Linked DNA regions of Homo sapiens: regions 2, 3, 4, 5, 6 and 7 are each linked to region 1. Evidence: promoter capture Hi-C in 16 types of primary human blood cells and fetal thymus (Javierre and others, 2016). All regions are on one chromosome and are shown on one strand. Each heading gives the region's core, a stretch centred on a gene start or on the middle of the fragment in contact. The rest is flanking DNA. Distances are from core to core; before and after follow the strand shown. Region 1 holds the start of TGFB2 (transforming growth factor beta 2). Region 2 overlaps LYPLAL1-AS1 (LYPLAL1 antisense RNA 1). Region 3 overlaps LYPLAL1-AS1 (LYPLAL1 antisense RNA 1). Region 4 overlaps LYPLAL1-AS1 (LYPLAL1 antisense RNA 1). Region 5 overlaps LYPLAL1-AS1 (LYPLAL1 antisense RNA 1). Region 6 overlaps LYPLAL1-AS1 (LYPLAL1 antisense RNA 1). Region 7 overlaps LYPLAL1-AS1 (LYPLAL1 antisense RNA 1).

Evidence for each region. The method cuts DNA at HindIII sites, captures the fragments that hold promoters and counts their contacts. A CHiCAGO score of 5 or more calls a contact.
Region 2: a fragment that was not itself captured here is called in contact with the fragment with the promoter of TGFB2 in region 1 in 1 of 17 cell types (monocytes); the score reaches 5.9 in monocytes.
Region 3: a contact is called between a fragment that was not itself captured here and the fragment with the promoter of TGFB2 in region 1, in 2 of 17 cell types (monocytes and M0 macrophages). The highest score is 8.4, in monocytes.
Region 4: a fragment that was not itself captured here is called in contact with the fragment with the promoter of TGFB2 in region 1 in 2 of 17 cell types (M0 macrophages and monocytes); the score reaches 6.4 in M0 macrophages.
Region 5: a contact is called between a fragment that was not itself captured here and the fragment with the promoter of TGFB2 in region 1, in 1 of 17 cell types (monocytes). The highest score is 6.2, in monocytes.
Region 6: a contact is called between a fragment that was not itself captured here and the fragment with the promoter of TGFB2 in region 1, in 2 of 17 cell types (monocytes and M0 macrophages). The highest score is 9.9, in monocytes.
Region 7: a contact is called between a fragment that was not itself captured here and the fragment with the promoter of TGFB2 in region 1, in 3 of 17 cell types (naive CD4 T cells, total CD4 T cells and monocytes). The highest score is 6.7, in naive CD4 T cells.

What each region holds. Positions count from the first base shown.
Region 1 is chr1:218,343,729-218,346,813 of GRCh38, reverse strand. TGFB2 (transforming growth factor beta 2) reads right to left here and starts at 1,478. Exons shown (of 7, transcript NM_003238.6): 1 at 1-1,478. The coding sequence starts at 112. TGFB2-AS1 (TGFB2 antisense RNA 1) reads left to right here and starts at 1,136. Exons shown (of 3, transcript NR_046268.1): 1 at 1,136-1,211; 2 at 1,426-1,639; 3 at 2,352-2,618. RefSeq lists an enhancer at 1,061-1,110 and a silencer at 1,491-1,550. The HindIII fragment of the contact is 5,586 bases long and covers 1-3,085 here.
Region 2 is chr1:219,545,093-219,548,177 of GRCh38, reverse strand. The region is part of intron 1 of LYPLAL1-AS1 (LYPLAL1 antisense RNA 1); the gene reads left to right. Among named protein-coding and RNA genes, the nearest start is that of LYPLAL1-AS1, 11 kb to the left of the region's middle. The HindIII fragment of the contact is 6,469 bases long and covers 1-3,085 here.
Region 3 is chr1:219,526,231-219,529,315 of GRCh38, reverse strand. All of the region lies in intron 1 of LYPLAL1-AS1 (LYPLAL1 antisense RNA 1), which reads left to right. Among named protein-coding and RNA genes, the nearest start is that of LYPLAL1-AS1, 30 kb to the left of the region's middle. The HindIII fragment of the contact is 1,008 bases long and covers 1,155-2,162 here.
Region 4 is chr1:219,498,569-219,501,653 of GRCh38, reverse strand. All of the region lies in intron 1 of LYPLAL1-AS1 (LYPLAL1 antisense RNA 1), which reads left to right. Among named protein-coding and RNA genes, the nearest start is that of LYPLAL1-AS1, 57 kb to the left of the region's middle. RefSeq lists an enhancer at 1-171. The HindIII fragment of the contact is 3,970 bases long and covers 1-3,085 here.
Region 5 is chr1:219,474,375-219,477,459 of GRCh38, reverse strand. The region is part of intron 1 of LYPLAL1-AS1 (LYPLAL1 antisense RNA 1); the gene reads left to right. Among named protein-coding and RNA genes, the nearest start is that of LYPLAL1-AS1, 81 kb to the left of the region's middle. The HindIII fragment of the contact is 5,351 bases long and covers 1-3,085 here.
Region 6 is chr1:219,455,615-219,458,699 of GRCh38, reverse strand. The region is part of intron 2 of LYPLAL1-AS1 (LYPLAL1 antisense RNA 1); the gene reads left to right. Among named protein-coding and RNA genes, the nearest start is that of LYPLAL1-AS1, 100 kb to the left of the region's middle. The HindIII fragment of the contact is 3,156 bases long and covers 1-3,005 here.
Region 7 is chr1:219,435,065-219,438,149 of GRCh38, reverse strand. LYPLAL1-AS1 (LYPLAL1 antisense RNA 1) reads left to right here. Exons shown (of 4, transcript NR_135822.1): 3 at 977-1,094; 4 at 2,737-2,992. It also overlaps a transcript of LYPLAL1 not described here. Among named protein-coding and RNA genes, the nearest start is that of LYPLAL1-AS1, 120 kb to the left of the region's middle. The HindIII fragment of the contact is 1,107 bases long and covers 1,006-2,112 here.

The DNA of each region.
Region 1 (3,085 bases), core at 229-2,728:
CGATCCTCTTGCGCATGAACTGGTCCATATCGAGTGTGCTGCAGGTAGACAGGCTGAGCGCGACCGTGACCAGATGCAGGATCAGAAAAGCGCTCAGCACACAGTAGTGCATTTTTTAAAAAAGTGGAAAAAAAAGTTGTTTTTAAAAGTCAGAATAAAAAAAAGAAATCAACAATTCTCAAAGTATAGATCAAGGAGAGTTGTTTGGTTTTTTGTTGTTGTTGTTTTTGATGCGAAACTTTTGCAAACAATCTAGTCAATGCCCAACAGAAAAACGTATCCTGCTTGAATTCCTTTAAAAAGAAAAGGCCAGTAGTTCCAAAAGTGGAAATATTAATACGGGACGGGCAGAGGGAACCCTGACTTTGGCGAGTAAGAAGAAAAAAATTCTTGGAGCAATGAGATGGGGAAAAAAAGAGACGAGTGGCTATTAAGTAGAAATAAATTTAAGAGGAGGAAGTGGAGTTCAGTGTGTCAGTCTCGGGTGCGGAGTGGCGGATCTGAACTCGGCTCCTCCGGCCAAAAGGGAAGAGATGAAAAGGTCCCGGGGCTGGCAGCTGGCGAACTGACGGGAGGGGCGCCGGGAGCGCGGTGAGGGGGGCCGCCGAGGCTGACCTGGGCTGAAATTTATATATTTAAAGAAGGAGCGGTTCGGTCCTGCCTTCCACTGCGGCGCTGAGAGCAGGAGCAGCAGCAGCTCCGGAGCAGAGAAGCGCACACGTGTGTGCGTGCGTGTGTGTGTGTGTGTGTGTGTGTGCGTGTGCGCGCGCTGGGGGCGAGCCCAGCGCACCGCGGGGAGGAGGGTGCGCTTCGCAGGGCGCTCGGTACTCGGTCGGGTGCCGCAGGGGCCGCAGAGGCTGCTGAGGCGGCGCGGATCCTGCTCTGGGAGCTGCGCTCCGTGGCCTACACCCTGGCGGGCGCGCGCTGACCCGCTTGGTTACTCCACGTTGCTGCCGCCGCCGCTTGCAAACGCTTCCAGCCTCCAGCTCCCTCCTTCTCCTGCTCCTCCTTCTCTTGCTCCAAACGCCAACCCAGCCACAGACGATCAGCCGTCGCGGTTGCGTTCACCCCCTGCGGATCACAACGGCAGCCCTTGCGACACCCTGGCTGGGGAGTTTTATTCCTGAGGGGGTTGCGCAGGGGCTCCCTTGGACTCCCACCCTTTCCCAACCTCTGCTGGCTTCTCCCCAACGTGGAATTGCTCGCTTAGGGTAGGTAGGCACTTGCCACCCTAAAATAGATCCTCTCTGTCTCCTCCTGTCTGCAGCCGGGCAGCCCCTCAGTTTGTTCCTGGATGACTCCCTAGACCGTCAGGCTAATATTCTCCATCCCCCTCCCCTGCCTCTTTCACTTGCGCTCTCGCTCTGCTGTCTCTTTCTCTCTTTCTCTTTCTATCTCTATCTCAATCTGTCTTTCTCTTGTCAGGAGCTTCTGGAGCTCCGCTCGGAGCGAACCTTCTGCTGCCAGCAGATAACATCACGATCTTGCCGGGGAGGGGAGATTTATAAGTTCTCTCTGAACCACGTGTCTGCCTTCAACAAAGTGACGTGCTAGGATTACAGTCAGAAGTCCTCTCGTTACTTAGACCACGAGCTCTCCCCGAACCGTTGAGGGAGTGTGGAAATGAGGACCGCTGTGGGTAAGGGAGGAAGGAGGTGGAATGTGCGCCCTGACAACAGTGATTTACGGTATTTACTTTCCAGTCATTTTGGACAGGTCTGTTGAAGGAAGGACAATCAAGTCTCCCGTTTTTACTTAGTGTAGCTCAGTCACAGCCTCCCAAGCTGAATCACTTGCTCTAGAAGGGAAGGCTTCCCTCCTGTATTATGTGTGCACACGCACCCCTATGGGAGGGAGCACTAGTCTACTCAGGGCCAGGCCAGTACTGAAGACATACCTTCCAATCTTTTAAATTCATGTCCTACCTCTTATTTTCTGGGATACCTTAGCAGGTTGCCATCCCAGAATTTATTTTGTTAGTTTGTTGTTTACAATGTACCCCTCTGTTTGTGAACTGCTGGAAAACAGAGATCCATCAATTTTACCTAAAGAATAAGGTATACTTGTTTGTTTTACTGATTTGAATGAATGGTCACCTTTATAATTTGCTGCCTAAGCCACTTCTTGTATGGCTTTCTTCTTCACCTTCTTGCTAGGCTAAACATTATCAACCAACTTCATTCTTTCCATAGCATTAATCCAGGAAGCTGGAATTTTAAGTGTTTGATGTCTACTGTTCTACACTACTCATAACTTGACATTTTCAATTTCAACTAAGTCTAAATTAGATGAATACAAGAATAACTCTTACCACTGTTCCACCTTCCCTTTTTCTTTTATTTTACCTTTAGTTACTCAAAGTCAACATTTTCATTTCGGCATGACTCTGCAGCCATACTGACCAGACAGATGATTTAAACTGGAAACTCTGTTGAATGTACTCCCAAACCCAAGATCTCTATACTGTTCTCTACTTCAGATGTTCCTGAGTTCAGAAAAGTCACAAAGAACTTTCTATCACTTTTGGAATTTATACTTCAGTTGTGTATGGGGCCTAGGTTATTAGTAGAGCACTGAATAAATAAAATAATAATAGCTAACATATACTACACTTAGTAATTTGATGTGTGTTGTGTATGGTCATTTAATCTTCACTATGAACCTATAAAGTGGGTCTTATTATCCATATCTGGCAGATGAGGAGACTGAGGTACAAAGAAGTTAAGTACTTTGTTCGAGACCACAGTAAGTGGTAGAGCTGGATTTTTGCAGTCAGGATCCACTATGTTCTTACCTACTATGTACTTCTGAGAAACAATGGTCCCAGAATATGTTCTGACAAACAGGAATTCTGGAGTCAAACAAGTTTGGGAGATACTGGGTACTCTCCTGTCCTCTTAGATTCCTCATTCTGGAACATTATCATGTTAAAGGCTCTGAAACTCCTGTAGAAGAGAAAACCTTTTCACTCTTTTAACCCAGCATTTTCCAAACTCCCTTGAATACAGAATTTTTTCCATTATCACACATTGAAAAACTCTGGAATAAAATAATTGTTCCAACCCACTTCTGAATAATTCTAAAA
Region 2 (3,085 bases), core at 312-2,811, 1.2 Mb before region 1:
CTGTACTGAATAAATCTCATGAGATCTGATAGTTTTATAAATGGGAGTTCCCCTGCACACACTTTCTTGCTTGCAGCTATGTAAGACATGACTTTGCTCCCCATTCACCTTCCACCATGATTGTAAGGCCTCTCCAGCCATGTGGAACTGTGAGTCCATTAAACCTCTTTCCTTTATAAATTACCCAGTCTTGGTTATGTCTTTATTAGCAGCGTGAGAAGAGACTAATATACATCGTGTCCCCTTTACCCACTATAATGGAGAAGGAAGGGGAAAAGAAGGCAACCATCAATTTCTAGGTGATAGGCAAAGAAGAAAGTTATAATAGAAAATGTCTTCTCAGTTGCAGTAATTCTGTGTGTATGCTTATTGCTTGAATAATAATAAATAAGGACTAGTTGATTAGCTGTGTTGATAGGATCATATCATGTTTCTTGGGGCACTTAGTAAAGAAGGAGGTTGGGCCCAATCAAATAGAGATGGAAAAGATACAAAATATTCAGACAAAAAAACATAGGCACGAAGGCAGATAAATACAAAAACCACAACACTGCACACTGAGAAAGGTGGATTCGGGTTAGTGCTGGTGGGTTGGAGGAAGATCAATAAGAATGAAGCAATGCTCCCCAGCAGATGACCAACTTGAGATATGTTTTAAAAGGAGTGGTGTGATTTGGCGAATATTAAGGCCTCGTGCACAGTCTAAAAATCGATTCCACATTCTCGGTGCCTTTTACAGGGTGTTCGCACTAAAAGTGGTGTGGTGTATTTGTTTCCAGGCAAAATTCAATTTAAAAGCAGGAATAATTGAAAACATCATTTTGAATGATGTGATTCTAAAAATGGAATAAAAAAATGTTGACAAGCCTTCTGAGCTCTCACCACTCTCGCCTTCTTGACTGCAAGAGGAACTTCTGAAGACTTAGATTTCTTTTGTTATCTGAGACACTTTATAATTCCTTTTAAAAGTGTGCATATGTGCTGAACTAAGCCACGGTTACCTTCAACTCCTAGGCCAGTAAGCCAGTCAATTAACAAATGCTTAAGTCTGCCTTCTAAACACTTACAGTTAAGTTTTAGCAAGTTGAGGATCCACCCATTAAGAAATTGTCTTTGATGCACTTAATGACTACCTATAGGCCTAGCCATTTAAGACATCAGACCCAGAACTACTGTCTTGTTCTAGTCTCAGACAGGACTTTTGTTGCCCAAACTACTCTTTTGTTAGTGAGGAAAAACACTGCCTCAATGGATCTAGGACATAAATTTTTTTTTTTTTTCTGTTCATAGAACTTTATTTATTTATTTTTTTATTGATCATTCTTGGGTGTTTCTCGCAGAGGGGGATTTGGCAGGGTCATAGGACAATAGTGGAGGGAATGTCAGCAGATAAACAAGTGAACAAAGGTCTCTGGTTTTCCTAGGCAGAGGACCCTGCGGCCTTCCGCAGTGTTTGTGTCCCTGGGTACTTAAGATTAGGGAGTGGTGATGACTCTTAACGAGCATGCTGCCTTCAAGCATCTGTTTAACAAAGCACATCTTGCACTGCCCTTAATCCATTTAACCCTGAGTGGACACAGCACATGTTTCAGAGAGCACAGGGTTGGGGGTAAGGTCACAGATCAACAGGATCCCAAGGCAGAAGAATTTTTCTTAGTACAGAACAAAATGAAAAGTCTCCCATGTCTACTTCTCTCTACACAGACACGGCAACCATCCGATTTCTCAATCTTTTCCCCACCTTTCCCGCCTTTCTATTCCACAAAACGGCCATTGTCATCATGGCCCGTTCTCAATGAGCTGTTGGGTACACCTCCCAGACGGGGTCGTGGCCCGGCAGAGGGGCTCCTCACTTCCCAGTAGGGGCGGCCGGGCAGAAGCGCCCCTCACCTCCCGGATGGGGCGGCTGGCCGGGCGGGGGGCTGAACCCCCCACCTCCCTCCCGGACGTGGCGGCTGGCCGGGCAGAGGGGCTCCTCACTTCCCAGTAGGGGTAGCCGGGCAGAGGCGCCCCTCACCTCCCAGTAGGGGTAGCCGGGCAGAGGCGCCCCTCACCTCCCGGATGGGGCGGCTGGCCGGGCGGGGGGCTGACCCCCCCATCTCCCTCCCGGACGTGGCGGCTGGCCGGGCAGAGGGGCTCCTCACTTCCCAGTAGGGGTAGCCGGGCAGAGGCGCCCCTCACCTCCCAGTAGGGGTAGCCGGGCAGAGGCGCCCCTCACCTCCCGGACGGGGCGGCTGGCCGGGCGGGGGGCTTACCCCCCCACCTCCCTCCAGGACGGGGCCGCTGGCCTGGCGGGGCTGACCCCCACCTCCCTCCCGGACGGGGTGGCTGCCGGGCAGAGACGCTCCTCACTTCCCAGACGGGGTGGCTGCCGGACGGAGGGGCTCCTCACTTCTCAGACGGGGCGGTTGCCAGGCAGAGGGTCTCCTCACTTCTCAGATGGGGCGGCCGGGCAGAGACGCTCCTCACCTCCCAGACGGGGTCCCGGCCGGGCAGAGGCGCTCCTCACATCCTAGACGGGGCGGCGGGGCAGAGGCGCTCCCCACATCCCAGACGATGGGCGGCCGGGCAGACACGCTCCTCACTTCCTAGATGGGATGGCGGCGGGGAAGAGGCGCTCCTCACTTCCTAGATGGGATGGCGGCCGGGCAGAGACGCTCCTCACTTTCCAGACTGGGCAGCCAGGCAGAGGGGCTCCTCACATCCCAGACGATGGGCGGCCAGGCAGAGACGCTCCTCACTTCCCAGATGGGGTGGCGGCCGGGCAGAGGCTGCAATCTCGGCTCTTTGGGAGGCCAAGGCAGGCAGCTGGGAGGTGGTTGTAGCGAGCCGAGATCACGCCACTGCACTCCAGCCTGGGCACCATTGAGCACTGAGTGAACGAGACTCCGTCTGCAATCCCGGCACCTCGGGAGGCCGAGGCTGGCAGATCACTCGCGGTTAGGAGCTGGAGACCAGCCCGGCCAACACAGCGAAACCCCGTCTCCACCAAAAAAATAGGAAAACCAGTCAGGCGTGGCGGCGCGTGCCTGCAATCGCAGGCACTCGGCAGGCACTCGGCAGGAGAATCAGGCAGGGAGGTTGC
Region 3 (3,085 bases), core at 409-2,908, 1.2 Mb before region 1:
TTGAAATTTGATTCTTAATGTGGTGGTGGTGGAGGTGGGGCCTAGTGGGAGGTATTTGGGTCATGGAGGCGGATCCCTCATGAATAGATTAATGCCCTCCCACAGGGTCAGGGGTGAGTGAGTAAATTAGTTCTTAGGACAGTGTTTTAAGAAGAGCCTGGCTTCCTTGGTTTCTTTCTTTTGCTTCCTCTTTTGCCATGTAAACTTTTTGCACAGGCCAGCTCCCCTTCCATTTTCCACAATGAGTAGAAGCAGCATGAAGTTCTAACTAGAGTCAGCTGCCCAATCTTGGACTCTTCAGCCACCAGAATCATAAGCCAAATAAACCTCTTCAATTTGTAAATGACCCAGAGTCAGGTATTGTGCTATAACAACACAAAACAGACTAAGAAATGGCCTCTCAATAGTTACATCTTTATGGCATGGTTTGCCAGCAGGGACATCTGCGTGAAAATAGCCTTCCCTCCTTATCTGTAAATCTCAGGCAACTACATCTGACTGGTAGAATCTAATTTGTATTCGCAACACCAGTTGCTAAGAAGTGTGGGAAATGTGGACTTCAGCTTGTCTCACTCTGCGGAACAAGGAAGAAGGAGGGTTAAATAGGGGCTGAGCAAAGAAAACCATAGTATTTGCCATCCTTCTTTGACTTCTAAATGTCATCTGCCTTTCTCTTGCTTAATCTGCACTAGCCCATCTCTAAGGCCCTGTGCTGCCTTCAGACTCCTGCCCTGTTGCTGTCTGATTTCTTAAAAAGTTATATTAGCAAAGACAATTTTTCTTCCCTATGAAGGAATAACATGTTTCCTGACACATGAACAGAAAATTCAGGCATTTGGAAAGGTGTGGTAATCTCATATTATCACCAGAATAGTAGAAAACAGACTCCAAATGTGATCATTCATAAATATGGTTGGTCACGTTAGCTTTATTAAAACCTAAAAGCAGCTACATTTTCCACTTAGAGTGACTTCAGACACATAAAGAATTCTGTAGAAGCCTTCTACTTAGGAGGCGAGCTGAAGGTAGATTTCTTTCCCAGAGCAAGAAATTTGCTATTCTGATACGGACATGTGGGATATGTTACAGTGCACAGTTGCCCTCTCCTCTGAAGAAAATGCTGATTCTGCAACTGAGTGTGGCCTGAAAAAGCTTGTCTATGTGGAAGACACAAGCCCAGTTCTTAACCACTTTTCCCTTTGCACAGCCTTATTCTCCAGGAGGCCACAAGTACAGCATGTTAATTCAAACTTTTCAAAACCATGAAACCACTGAATATCTCAATATCCACGTGTGGACTCTCATTTGCCTACTCTGTGTTAACAGAGAAACATTTGGTTTTAAACAAGACTTTATTTAAGAGGAAAAAGTGTATAAGATTACATTTGAAAATGTAATTACTGAAAAGATAAACCATATGTTGTAGTCTTTGTTTTATCTCCTTTTCACTGAGGCCTGCTTTCAGGGGTTCATTTGGAGGTGTATGGAAATTCTAATTCTATAACCAAGCTGGGTAAGCTGAGTGTACTTACTCACCAGTAATACGTGTTTACATCTTGATGTAGTTATTGCCAAAGTATTTTATAGTCCAGTGATATAGTCTTACTTAAAAAGAGCACAAAATATTGACTCAGAGATGCTGAGCTTGAGGTTCCGCACCTGCCTCCCTCCTCTTCCCACTGCCGCCTTCCTCAAAGATTAAATAAAGGGAGGTTGTCATCAAGAGAGAAATCTGGGGCTGGCAGAGTGGGCCAGGAATAGATAAAGAATAAAAATTGTGTTTTCTGGTTCCTTTGACTTCAGGTTGAGTAGGTTGTCTATGCCACACTAGGACTAGACAAAACGTGAACTAGGAGCAAAATATTAACAGCCAGATGGGTGCTCACAGATGTTAAAACCCATTATAGGCCCCACTCAAAATCTTTTATAAATGCTACTTCTGACCTTTAGTAAGCGGAATTAATAACCTTCTTCCAAATGGGAAAAAAGGGGGGGACTAACCATGGTAGTAGTTTCTGCCTGTTGCAAATCTACCTGTCAATTTGTTTATGTACATCTTGGGTTCTTTTTGATAGATAAAGGTAATAGCCCAAAATGTTTGAAGTTGATAAGGGCTACTATTCCACCACAACCTTGCTACAAAGTTATAATGTAAGCAAGCTTTTGGTAAATTTCATTGTTGGTGTAGACATTTTTAAACAAACCTTTATGAGCAGACAAGCACAATATAGTCTGCTCTGTAAGTCCAATGTGGCCCCAGTACCCCAGTACTCTATTTTTTTAGTTGCTCCAACCAACATTCTGCTAGAAAGGTTAGCCTAAGGAAAAGGAGACAGCATTCTAGAGGTAGACTTCTGTTATCTGTTTAGCAGCAACAGGTAACAGAAATTTAGAGGTAATTTAGAAATCCTTCTAAACCAGTGGTTTAGACTATAGTAAGGTGAAATTGTGAAAGACTTTTAAATGAACCAAAAGATTAGCAGGTGTTTTCAGTAGAAAACTTTGCATTGTTTAGAGCAGGGGTCCTCAACCACCAGCAGGTACCATCTGTGGGCTGTTAGGAACTGGTCTGCACAGCAGAAGGTGAGCAGAAAGTGAGCAAGTATTACCACCTGAGCTCAGCCTCCTGTCATTAGATTCTTATAGGAGTGCAGACCCTGTTGTGAACTGTGCATGTGAGGGACCTAGGTTGCACGCTCCTTATGAGAATCTAATGCCTGATGATCTGAGGTGGAACAGTTTTATCCCGAAACTATACCCCGCTCCCCACCATCCTGTGTAATAATTGTCTTCCATGAAACTGGTCCCTGGTGCAAAAGTGTTGGGAACAACTGGTTTAGAGAATACCTTTGCGATTATTTGATTCTATGTAGTGTCTCCCTTTCACTGTCTGAGCTGTTTTACAATTCTGTAGATATAAGTTAACATGTAGAAAACTGACAGTAGGGCAAATAATTTTTATCTATACACATGCAAATAAATTCTATCTAGTGGAGGTTCAATGGACTTCCCCTCCCTACAGTGGAAGAAACCAGTTTTGTACCTATTTAAAAAATTCGTTTCAGCATTACTCATGGGCTTATAT
Region 4 (3,085 bases), core at 234-2,733, 1.2 Mb before region 1:
TGGGAAGAGCAAAGATAAAATATGCCTAAAGAGGCAGGAGGAATTTATAGCAGTAGAGTCTGACTAATAGTTGGCTGTATCAGCGTCCTGACTTAACTAAACAACTATCCGCAGATACTATTAAACGGAGTAAAAAACAAGGATATATGCATATTATTTTATGATTTAAAAGTGCTTTGGGCCAGGTGCAGTGGCTCACGCCTGTAATCGCTGCACTTTGGGGGGCCAAGGCAGGTGGATGGCCTGAGGTCAGGAGTTCAAGACCAGCCTGGCCAACATGGTGAAATCCTGTCTCTAGTAAAAATACAAAAATTAGCCAGGTGTGGTGGCAGGCACCTGTAGTCCCAGCTACTCAGGAGGCTGAGGCAAGAGAATTGCTTGAACCCAGGAGGCGGAGGTTGCAGTAAGCCGAGATCCTGCCGTTGCACTCCAGCCTAGGCGTCAAGAGCAAAACTTCATCTCAAAAAGAAAAAAAAAAGTGCTTTGATGTGCCCTGCGTCATTTCATGCTCATCTCAAGCCTCTGATATACTTTTAAAAGACACTCAACTTTTATTGAGGTGCAATTTACATAAAATGAAATTCTCACACTTTAAGTGTATGGGTTAAAGACTTTTGACAAAATATATACACTTACGTAACTCCACCTGAATCGAGATGTAGAACATTTTAATTTTTCCAGAAAGTTACCTCATGTCTTCTTCATTCAATAGTCTCCACCACACAACCCAGGTAACCATTGATTGAGTTTCTGTCACTATAAGACAGTCTCGCCTCTTTTAGATTTTCTCTTTCTTTCTTTCTCTCTCTCTCTCTCTCTTTTTTTTTTAAGACAGGATCTCTCTATGTTGTCTAGGCTGGTCTCACACTCCAGGGCTCAAGCAATCCTCCTGCTCCAGTCTCCCAAAGTGCTGAGATTACAAGTGTGAGCCACTGTGCCTGGCTCTATTTTCGAATTTCATAACAGAATGATATCCTATGTCCTCCTTTGCTCCCAGTTTCTTTCATCCAGTGTAATGAATGAAAGATTCATCCATGCTGTTGCATCAGTCAGCCCTTCTTTTGAGAAAGGGCTTCTTTCTCTGATTCTATTGAGGTCGAAACTCAAACTCAAAGAGGTGGGCGATTTGTCTGAAGGTCTCAGCTCACGAGTAGACCAACTAGGACTCCCACATTGATTTTATGCTTCCTAAATTACTTACCATGATGCTGCTCTTGGTGCTGAACTGAAAGGAAGAGAGCATTCACTCTTACTTTGCCAAACAATCATATGATGGAGGCATACGGAACATGAGGAAAGAGCATATTCTGATAGTCTGATGCAAGGATCACTTTACGGCTTACAGGATGAGCACCCGATATAGCCAAACCGATCAGAACCCTTTGCCTGGGTATTTGAATAAAGAATAGGGTAAAATCTTTTTTGTTATTAAAAGCTGTTAGCTATGATGCTTTGATGCTTAGGACTGGCCAGAAGGCATGTTTCTTGCCTTGTGGAGGAAATTTAAAGAAAGAAGTTGACATACAGAGAAAAGCAACATAAGAGACACAGAAAATCCTCACTGTTTGAAACTCTGGTTGCATTTATTTTTGAGGGCTAGCAGCATTCTCGTCCTTCCAGTGAATTGGTTATTTAACCCTTCATTTGATAATGTGAGATGCTTCATTATCTATGAGTAAATTTCCTCTAAGTTAATTTGATTAGTTTTCTATCACTTGCAATCAAAAGACCGCTGAGTAACATATTTCACTTAAAAGAATTTAACTGGAATTAGTCATTTGCATAATGTTGCCACATCTTGCAAAAGACCCTCAGTTTTCTTAGTAACTCAAGTTAAATATGCAGCATCGGTATTGTGCCAGGAAGAATGAAAGCCTGGTATTTACCTTTTCAAATAATCTTTGTTTCCATTTGGCATATACAGAGGTTGAAATATTAACAGTGCTTCCCAGGAGAAAACCTAGCTCTGTAAGGCCTATGGGTGATAAAACGTATTATATAAATACACTGTGTTCAAGATCAGCAAATTCTATACATTTTTTTCCCCACTGGGAGCTACTCATTTTTATGGAAAATCTCCTGGCCCACTATAATAAATGTGAATAAAACTGCTGGGAATACTTTAATTCTTCTCATATCAAATGCAGGTAGTGAATAATGTCTTATATATTTGAGATCCCATTTTCAGAAGTGGAATACTCATATGCGGGAAAGACTGGAGGTAGTTCACTTCCCTTTAAATAGAACAAATGCCACGAGCAAAAATAAGTCCTTCTTGTTTCATGTAAATAAAGGCCCCATTTTTTGAGGATCAGTTCCTACTTATGTACTTATGTTATCAGTGGTCCCAAAAGAACTATACAAGAAGTAGAACCTGACCCTTGGTTGAGTTTCTCTTTGGCTTCCTTTTGTTATTTCACTCTTCTTGGTTTTAGTGTGTCCTTTGTTTTGCTGCTTTTTCTTCTGTCGCTGTTTCCCTTTTTTTTTTCTCATTTCCCCAGAGATTCTTGAGAGTAGAGTCCAGTCCTCCACCAGTCCTCCATTCCTCTTCATGATGCCCAGTTGTGAACAAGAAGGAATGCCCTTGTCACCTTTCCACAAGCAGAAGGAGCATTCAAGGGTTTCCAGTTTGGATCTCCATGCTCCAGCATGTCGAGATGCTCAGAGGGTAAATGTATGAGAAACAAAGGGTAACTGAATTACCAATTTCAATTGTCTTCAAGATGTTAGCTCTTGCACACATGTAGCAATTCTTGATTGCTTAAGAGGTCCCTGGTGTGTTTTTGGCAAGTGAAGACCTTTACATGTGCCTGGTTCTGGGCCAAGTGACATGCAAAGTTCTGGGATTGCTTAACTACTCATCTGCCTGTGTTTTCTTCCAATTCCTTAGAAAGAAAACTAAAAACAAAGATTAAGAAAGAAAAGGGGTGTTGACCCTTGTGACCAAAATAATTCCTTTTAGATAAATTCCAAGATAAACTTCAAGATTGAAAGGATAAGACACTCCTCAATGGAGTACTTGCAGAAAATAACTAACACAGGCTTTCTTTAAAATCAGATTAAAAACCAAAAGTCTGCAGTCGTT
Region 5 (3,085 bases), core at 312-2,811, 1.1 Mb before region 1:
GAGGCAAAGCAGCCTGGTCCTTGGCTTCAGAGATTTTTATAATGTGCCAGTGAAACAAGCGTACCGGACTGTCTAGCTCCTTCATCTGAGAAAGACATTAATCTCCTTCTATTTAGACTGACTTACATAGGAGTGAATAAGTATAATGTAGTTTTTTTCCCCCTTGGAGTTAATAGACATGCATTGAAAAGTGTCCATTCACCAGTCCTCAAACTTTTTTCTTAAAGGGTCCCAATCTAGGCACAAAAGTGAGATTATTGTGCATTAATAGCTTCAATAAATCATATATCTTTTGGACAAACTAAACAATAGGATAGCATAATGTTTAAAATCTGAAAAAAAATTATTTGTTGAATCACTAAAATGTTATATTTGAATTTATTAAAAATATCTTTAATTCAATACACAAGGTTGATGTATGAAGATTACCTGCCTTCTCCATAATCCAATATTCAAAGAGATGAACTCAATTTAGTATATCTCTTCATTTTGTCTATTTTTGACAGTTTCTGTTTTACTTCTTGCTACAGTGTTACTTCCTGTGGTAATGGTTACAAATCAGGGAATAGGTTAAAAGTTTCTAGAAAAATTATGCAGGTGTTAAATCATGTACACCTAATCTCTTTCTTTTATAGGTAAAATTGAGGCTCAGAGAAAAGGGAAATAGTTTACCCGAAAAACTGGGTACAAATTCTCTATACATCCTACATTTGGCCTTGGGCAAGTTGTTCAGCCTCTGTTGCCCCAGCTGTGAAAAAGAGGCAATGTTAACTATAAGGTAAAGCTATGATGCTGATTAAATAAATGACATACAAAGTGTCTGGCACAGAATAGGTGCTCAGCAAACCACTAGTTGCCTTCCTCTTTCCTAAAGTCTCCATGGAGTTGTTACATATAACAACATGGAGTTGTTAAATATTTGGGAGCAGAATGCAAGAGTTGGCCCTCAATCTTGTGTTCTTCCCATTTCACCAGGCTGCTTCCTGCTGAGATTTATAGGGAAACTACCTTGTTGAAGAGCTAGCTGCTGACTCTCACTTGGGAATGTGTTGGGGAGATGGTGTGAGTGAAAGGTAGAGATGTGTTACAAACCCTGACTACCACCATGGCTGAAACTGCAACCACCAACTACAGGAGGGTCATTCATTGTAATAGAAAGGGGCTGTTGGTGGCAGAACTGTGTTTTCAGCATCCACAGCTGACAGTCCCCCTGAGGTTATAGAACTATGCTGCACACGAGTTCACAGCTGTGAGTGTGACACCGATGATAAAGCAATAATCCTCTCTATCTAATGTCCTTCCAGGTTGGGTGGCTGCCTGCCTTACCTAAATAGGTTTTGTGTAGACTTACATTTGAATGCATTCATTATACTCATAGAAACTGGTGGTGGCTTGAATAAACTCCTCATTCTCCTTGAGAAATAGCCTGAAATCATTCACTCGTCATTCCTTTCTTCCTCAGAAATGTCCTGAACCCTATCATATGCTTAAGATTTAGCAGTGCACAAAGAAAGATACAAAGAAGGAGTGTACACAGCCCTTCAAGTATTTTACAAGTCTGGGGTTTGCTAACAGACCTGGAAACTTAAACAGCAAACCACAGCAACAATTTATTCATTCATTCATTGAATATATATTTATTTAGAAATAATGCTGACCACCGACAAGGCTTTGGGCTAGGTGAACTGTAGCATAGAAGGATGAATATGATTTCTTTCTTTCCCTCTTTCTTTTTCTTTTCTTTCTTTCTTTCTTTCTTTCTTTCTCTCTTTCTTTTTCTGTTTCTCTTTCTTTCTTTCTTTCTTTCTTTCTTTCTTTCTTTCTTTCTTTCTTTCTTTCTTTCTTTCTTTCTTTCTTTCTTTCTTTCTTTCTTTCTTTCTTTCTTTCTTTCTTTCTTTCTTTCTTTCTTTCTTTCTTTCTTTCTTTTTGGGGTGGGCAGAGTTTCACTCTTGTTGCCCAGGCTGGAGTGCAATGGCACGATCTCGGCTCACTGAAACCTCCGCCTCCCAGGTTCAAGCGATTCCCCTGCCTCAGCCTCCTGAGTAGCTGGGATTACCGGCATGCACTACTGTGCCTGGCTAATTTTGTATTTTTATTAGAGACAGGGTTTCTCCATGTTGGTCAGGCTGGTCTCAAACTCCCGAACTCAGGTGATCTACCCACCTTGTCCTCCCAAAGTGCTGGGATTACAGGCATGAGCCACTGTGCCCAGCCCAATATAATTTGTTTCTAAGCAGCATGCAGTTAGATGAAGAAAGGACATTAGAGTGTTGAAGACAAACTTTAATATCTAGTATATAATATATGTATAGTATATAAGTATGAATAAGATGTACTAGGTAAATGATGTAAATTATGATAAATAGTCAAATAAATGTAAATAAGTTTGCGTTTGGCAAAGCCTCTGTGATCCAATCAGTGATTCTTAATCCCTAAGGTCATTAAGTCTTGCCCATCCTGCCTCCACAGTCACTTCTTCCTTCATTCTCTTTTCCTTTCTTGGTTCCTCTATATTTGATCCTTGTTATCTTGGTGCAATGAGTGACAGCCATCTTCTCAGAAGGAATGATGCTTGGAGGACGAGTGAGAATTAACCAGGTAGAAAGGGGAGGGCATTGTAGGGAATATAAATGCATGTGCAAGGGTCTGGAGAAAGGGAGAGATCACGGTATGTATGAGGGACTGAAAGAAAGCAGGACAGTTAGAACAAGAGGCAACATGGGATGAGATAAGTAGGGGATGTGTGCGATGGGGACACAGGGTTTGTTCAGTGAGGCCATGCAGAACTTGTGGGTCATAGGAGATAATTTTGTTTTTATTTGAAGAGCTCTGGAGATCATGACAAATCATCACAGACTATCATAGTTTCTAACTAGAAGGAATCTTGAGTTTCTCTAGTCTAAACCTTGACTTTATATCTGTCACTGTGTCTATATTGAGTGAACTTCTGGCCTATGCTGAAGAAAACAACTTAATTGCTAGGGAACTTGGGAATCCTGTGACTACTCATTCAACTTTTTTGTTGTTATTTCTCCTCTCTTATTTCTAAATTAACCATTTGAAAGTGAACAATTCAGTGGTGTTT
Region 6 (3,085 bases), core at 178-2,677, 1.1 Mb before region 1:
GAATTCCAAAATGATAGAAAAATGTACCTCCTGGGGCCACAGTAATTCAATGAGTCCAGGGCAGTGGGACATGTCCTCTGCCGGATTCCCATGTAGCCAGATCCGATAGTGTTATTTTAAGTACAGAAAGAAGTTGGCTTTTTAAAGTACTTTTTTAATTATGGAAAGAAGTTCAGCTTTGAATGCCTGGGCTGTGTTTGGTTGTTTAATATATAGAATAACTCCCTAGGAAAAAAATCCTAGGGAGGTAAGTATGAAACAGTGGGAAGATTGTAATTATGCAGAACTTTGAAGGAACTGCAACATTTGGGTTAACTTAATGTTGTGGTTAATTGTAGGTTAGTCAGAAAATCATTATTTCAACACTTTTAAAATAATCCTTACAAAATGCCCTTAGCAAATTCCCATGTTGCAAGCATAGCTATATCTTTCTTTGTTGTCTGAGGATTTTTAGAGCCTTCATGTCAATATTGCAAACACAAACTTTCATTTAAGTGTTAGAGGGCAAGATGGTGCAGGGTATTGGTCTTTGCCTGAATTAACCATTTTATATTCCCTAGACATTGGCTTAGTTGAGTGTTTGATCTCAGGTTGATTTTTTATAATTGTCTCTTCTTTACTATCCCACTCTTTTTTTTATTATTATACTTTAAGTTTTAGGGTACATGTGCACATTGTGCAGGTTAGTTACATATGTATACATGTGCCATGCTGGTGCGCTGCACCCACTAACTCGTTATCTAGCATTAGGTATATCTCCCAATGCTATCCCTCCCCCCTCCCCCCACCCCACCACAGTCCCCAGAGTGTGATATTCCCCTTCCTGTGTCCATGTGATCTCATTGTTCAGTTCCCACCTATGAGTGAGAATATGCCGTGTTTGGTTTTTTGTTCTTGTGATAGTTTACTGAGAATGATGATTTCCAATTTCATCCATGTCCCTACAAAGGACACGAACTCATCATTTTTTATGGCTGCGTAGTATTCCATGGTGTATATGTGCCACATTTTCTTAATCCAGTCTATCATTGTTGGACATTTGGGTTGGTTCCAAGTTTTTGCTATTGTGAATAATGCCGCAATAAACATACGTGTGCATGTGTCTTTATAGCAGCATGATTTATAGTCCTTTGGGTATATACCCAGTAATAGGATGGCTGGGTCAAATGGTATTTCTAGTTCTAGATCCCTGAGGAATTGCCACACTGACTTCCACAATGGTTGAACTAGTTTACAGTCCCACCAACAGTGTAAAAGTGTTCCTATTTCTCCACATCCTCTCCAGCACCTGTTGTTTCCTGACTTTTTAATGATTGCCATTCTAACTGGTGTGAGATGGTATCTCATTGTGGTTTTGATTTGCATTTCTCTGATGGCCAGTGATGATGAGCATTTTTTCATGTGTTTCTTGGCTGCATAAATGTCTTCTTTTGAGAAGTGTCTGTTCATGTCCTTCACCCACTTTTTGATGGGGTTGTTTGTTTTTTTCTTGTAAATTTGTTTGAGTTCATTGTAGATTCTGGATATTAGCCCTTTGTCAGATGAGTAGGTTGCGAAAATTTTCTCCCATTTTGTAGGTTGCCTGTTCACTCTGATGGTAGTTTCTTTTGCTGTGCAGAAGCTCTTTAGTTTAATTAGATCCCATTTCTCAATTTTGGCTTTTGTTGCCATTGCTTTTGGTGTTTTGGACATGAAGTCCTTGCCCATGCCTATGTCCTGAATGGTAATGCCTAGGTTTTCTTCTAGGGTTTTTATGGTTTTAGGTCTAAGGTTTAAATCTTTAATCCATCTTGAATTGATTTTTGTATAAGGTGTAAGGAAGGGATCCAGTTTCAGCTTTCTACATATGGCTAGCCAGTTTTCCCAGCACCATTTATTAAATAGGGAATCCTTTCCCCATTGCTTGTTCTTCTCAGGTTTGTCAAAGATCAGATAGTTGTAGATATGCGGCGTTATTTCTGAGGGCTCTGTTCTGTTCCATTGATCTATATCTCTGTTTTGGTACCAGTACCATGCTGTTTTGGTTACTGTAGCCTTGTAGTATAGTTTGAAGTCAGGTAGTGTGACGCCTCCAGCTTTGTTCTTTTGGCTTAGGATTGACTTGGCGATGCGGGCTCTTTTTTGGTTCCATATGAACTTTAAAGTAGTTTTTTCCAATTCTGTGAGGAAAGTCATTGGTAGCTTTATGGGGATGGCATTGAATCTGTAAATTACCTTGGGCAGTATGGCCATTTTCACGATGTTGATTCTTCCTACCCATGAGCATGGAATGTTCTTCCATTTGTTTGTATCCTCTTTTATTTCCTTGAGCAGTGGTTTGTAGTTCTCCTTGAAGAGGTCCTTCACATCCCTTGTAAGTTGGATTCCTAGGTATTTTATTCTCTTTGAAGCAATTGTGAATGGGAGTTCACTCATGATTTGGCTCTCTGTTTGTCTGTTGTTGGTGTATAAGAATGCTTGTGATTTTTGTACATTGATTTTGTATCCTGAGACTTTGCTGAAGTTGTTTATCAGCTTAAGGAGATTTTGGGCTGAAACAATGGGGTTTTCTAGATATACAATCATGTCGTCTGCAAACAGGGACAATTTGATTTCCTCTTTTCCTAATTGAATACCCTTTATTTCCTTCTCCTGCCTAATTGCCCTGGCCAGAACTTCCAACACTATGTTGAATAGGAGTGGTGAGAGAGGGCATCCCTGTCTTGTGCCAGTTTTCAAAGGGAATGCTTCCAGTTTTTGCCCATTCAGTATGATATTGGCTGTGGGTTTGTCATAGATAGCTCTTATTATTTTGAAATACGTCCCATCAATACCTAATTTATTGAGAGTTTTTAGCATGAAGGGTTGTTGAATTTTGTCAAAGGCTTTTTCTGCATCTATTGAGATAATCATGTGGTTTTTGTCTTTGGCTCTGTTTATATGCTGGATTACATTTATTGATTTGCGTATATTGAACCAGCCTTGCATCCCAGGGATGAAGCCCACTTGATCATGGTGGATAAGCTTTTTGATGTGCTGCTGGATTCGTTTTGCCAGTATTTTATTGAGGATTTTTGCATCAATGTTCACCAAGGATATTGGTCTA
Region 7 (3,085 bases), core at 310-2,809, 1.1 Mb before region 1:
GTAATTAAATTCTTTGAGGGGCCTATGCCTCTTGCTATAAGAGGGGTCCTTTTTTCCTCACTGAAATTAAAAAAGACAAATAGGGCTGGGTGTGGTGGCTCACGTCTGTAATCCCAGCACTTTGGGAGGCCGAGGCGGTTGGATCACTTGAGGTCAGGAGTTCGAGACCAGCCTAGCCAACATGGTGAAACCCCATCTCTACTAAAAATACAAAAATTAGCCAGGCGTGGTGGTGGGCGCCTGTAATCCCAGCTACACGGGAGACTGAGGCAGGATAATCACTTGAACCGGGGAGGTGGAGGTTGCAGTGAGCTGAGATCACACCACTGCACTCTAGCTTGGGTGACAGACTGAGATTCCTTCATAAAATAAAATAAAATAAAATAAAATAAAATAAATACAATAAAATAATAAAATAAAATACAGAGTGTCTTTGGGACCAGGGAGAGAAGGGACTTAATTGTTGCACACCCTAAAAACAATAGAATAAAAGATTGTACCAAAGGGGGCAAGATAAAATATATATTTAATATCTACTGAAACATTTCCCTGAACTCCAGTTTGGGAGAGGTACCTGGCAGCACAGATCTATGTGAGATCCCTCCTATTGCAATTTAATATGGAAATGTAGGGAGGGAGGGGAAGGATCAGAGTCAGGGAAACCAGGAATGGGTGTATTGCAAGAGTTCGGGTAAGAGACAGTGAGGTCCTTAGCTGGGATACTGGCTTTGAGATGAAGAAGACGTGGAAGATTTGAGAGCTATTTAGGAGGGATGGAGTGGGGTGGGAAGAGAGAAAGAAAACAGGATGTCCTAGTTATTAATGCTTTACAGGTGGGATGATGGGCAGAACATGGAAAGATGGTGTGAGAAGGGGAGAGTCCCACAGGCTGATGGTGGCATTCCTGCTCCTGCTCTGAGCTCACCCAGCCCTGTGGCACTCCAACTTCTACTAACTGGTGGGGTCACACTCCCAGTATTTTCCAGAGAGAAGTACTGAGAAGCTTAAAGTATTTGAATGGGAGGAGGAGAAGCAAACTACAGCTACTTCAGAGGATAACACTAAACACCTAGTCCACTCTGTATACACTAGAGGTAAGAGAGGTGGTTCATAGAACTTCACAGGCACCCAGAGTTTTCTCCTAGCCTTCTTGGTTAATTCTGTGTTGTCTAATATATCAAGAAAAAATAGTGTAACAGAGTTCCCAATCTCAAACTAAACCCTGAGATTTATTTTTTTGAAACACTGAAGCAAAGAACCTGGAAAAATTGTTATTTAGAAGTTGCAAGATGTTGTTTTGACTCCCTAGAAGTTCTTTCATTTTTCAGAGCCAGCTGTTCTCTTATGGAGGAGAGCCACCAGAATGTGATCTTTACTAATACAAATGCAGAACAAGTATTAACTCAACGCTCTTCATAATAATAAAATTCACTGCCCACTTGAGTGCACATGTTTATTATGAAATGGTAACACACTTAGCCTTGTGGATGAGGAACCCCAAATCTGAGCCCTGTGACTTAAGGGTCCAGACTTAAGGGTCTGCTCTGGCTATGCCTCTTCCCATGGGGCAAGGAATCTCTAGGCCAAATTAGAGCACACACTCCTTCCCCCTTCAAGACTAAGCTCCGGGCAGGCAGATTTATCTTTTAGGTACAATAGGTGGAGTGCCAAGGGCCCCTATTACTGTTAGGGGCCACAAAAATGTTCAAATTTCTTTTAAAATCAGAAAAAAAAGAATGAACTTTTAGGTTGAAAACATATCTGACATCATATTAATATATTTATTTCTATACCAACACAGTCGTAAGACATAACTTGTGATTTATTTTATGGAAAAGGGGGCCCACAAATACAAAGGCACCTAGAGTTCTTTAAAGACATAAAGTGGCTATCCCTCTAGGAGGCTAGAACCCCAGACTTTTATGTCCAAGTGGCCAAAGCCTACTTCCAGGGCCTGCGAGGGCCTCTTGCCCAGGTGTCTTCTTTTAAGAGCAGGCAGCACACAGGTATGAGCACCCCAAAGCACACCAGTGACTATGGCTGATCTTGTACAGTCTGTGACTGGAGTGTGGGTGTACGGGCTAGTGTGTTCCTGTGTCTATGTGTGAAGCTTCTTGTAATAGGAGATGGCACTGGGGCAGAATGAAAAGGAGTATAGACAAGGATTGGGGCTAGTTCTCTTCAAAATTTTGCATTCTGGTGCAGACTGTGTAGACAGCATTACTTGAACAAACTGTATGAGAACAGACATTGCAAATGCTTTAAATGAATGTGGGATGTGTCACTGATCTTTCACTATTATTATTATTATTATTATCATTTTTGGGACGGAATCTCACTATGTCACCCAGGCTGGAGTGTAATGGTGTGGTCTCGGCTCACTGCAACCTCCACCTCCCGGGTTCAAGTGATTCTCCTGCCTCAGCCTCCCGAGTAGCTGGGACTACAGGCATGCACCACCACACCCAGCTTATTTTTTGTATTTTTAGTACAGACGGGGTTTCACTATGTTGGCCAGGCTGGTCTCAAACTCCTGACCTCGTGATCCGCCTGCCTCGGCCTCCCAAAGTACTGGGATTGATTACAGGCATGAGCCACCGCACCCAGCCTGATCTTTCACTATTATTAACATTAGGAAGATAACATTGTACACTAAGCCCATCAAAGAGATGCAAGTTAAGTGCAGGCTAATAACAACTTTCTGTAAATAATTTAATTTTGAATTTTATCTAACAGGTGCTGTTAATTTTCTTGTGGAGAAGGAACTGTCTTTAGAAAAATATCTCAAAAAGCCACTGAAGTAGAAAGTTTCAGCATGCTGAAGATGGAACTTGAGAAGATAGAAAGTTCTGGGTCCTTAGTGGCATGACTGAGTCGCTGGACCACTGTTGGAACCACCCTATGTCTTAGTTTTTAAATCTCTTTACTGTCTAAGACATTTTTAGTGGAAGTATTTATCTCTGGCATCCAATAAGACCTTTAAGGATTTGCAGTTTTATCTATGTGTTTGTTTATTGTCTGCTCCACCCTACTTGATTGTGATCACCATGACATCAATGACTGTGCATCTTTTGTTCACTCAGGA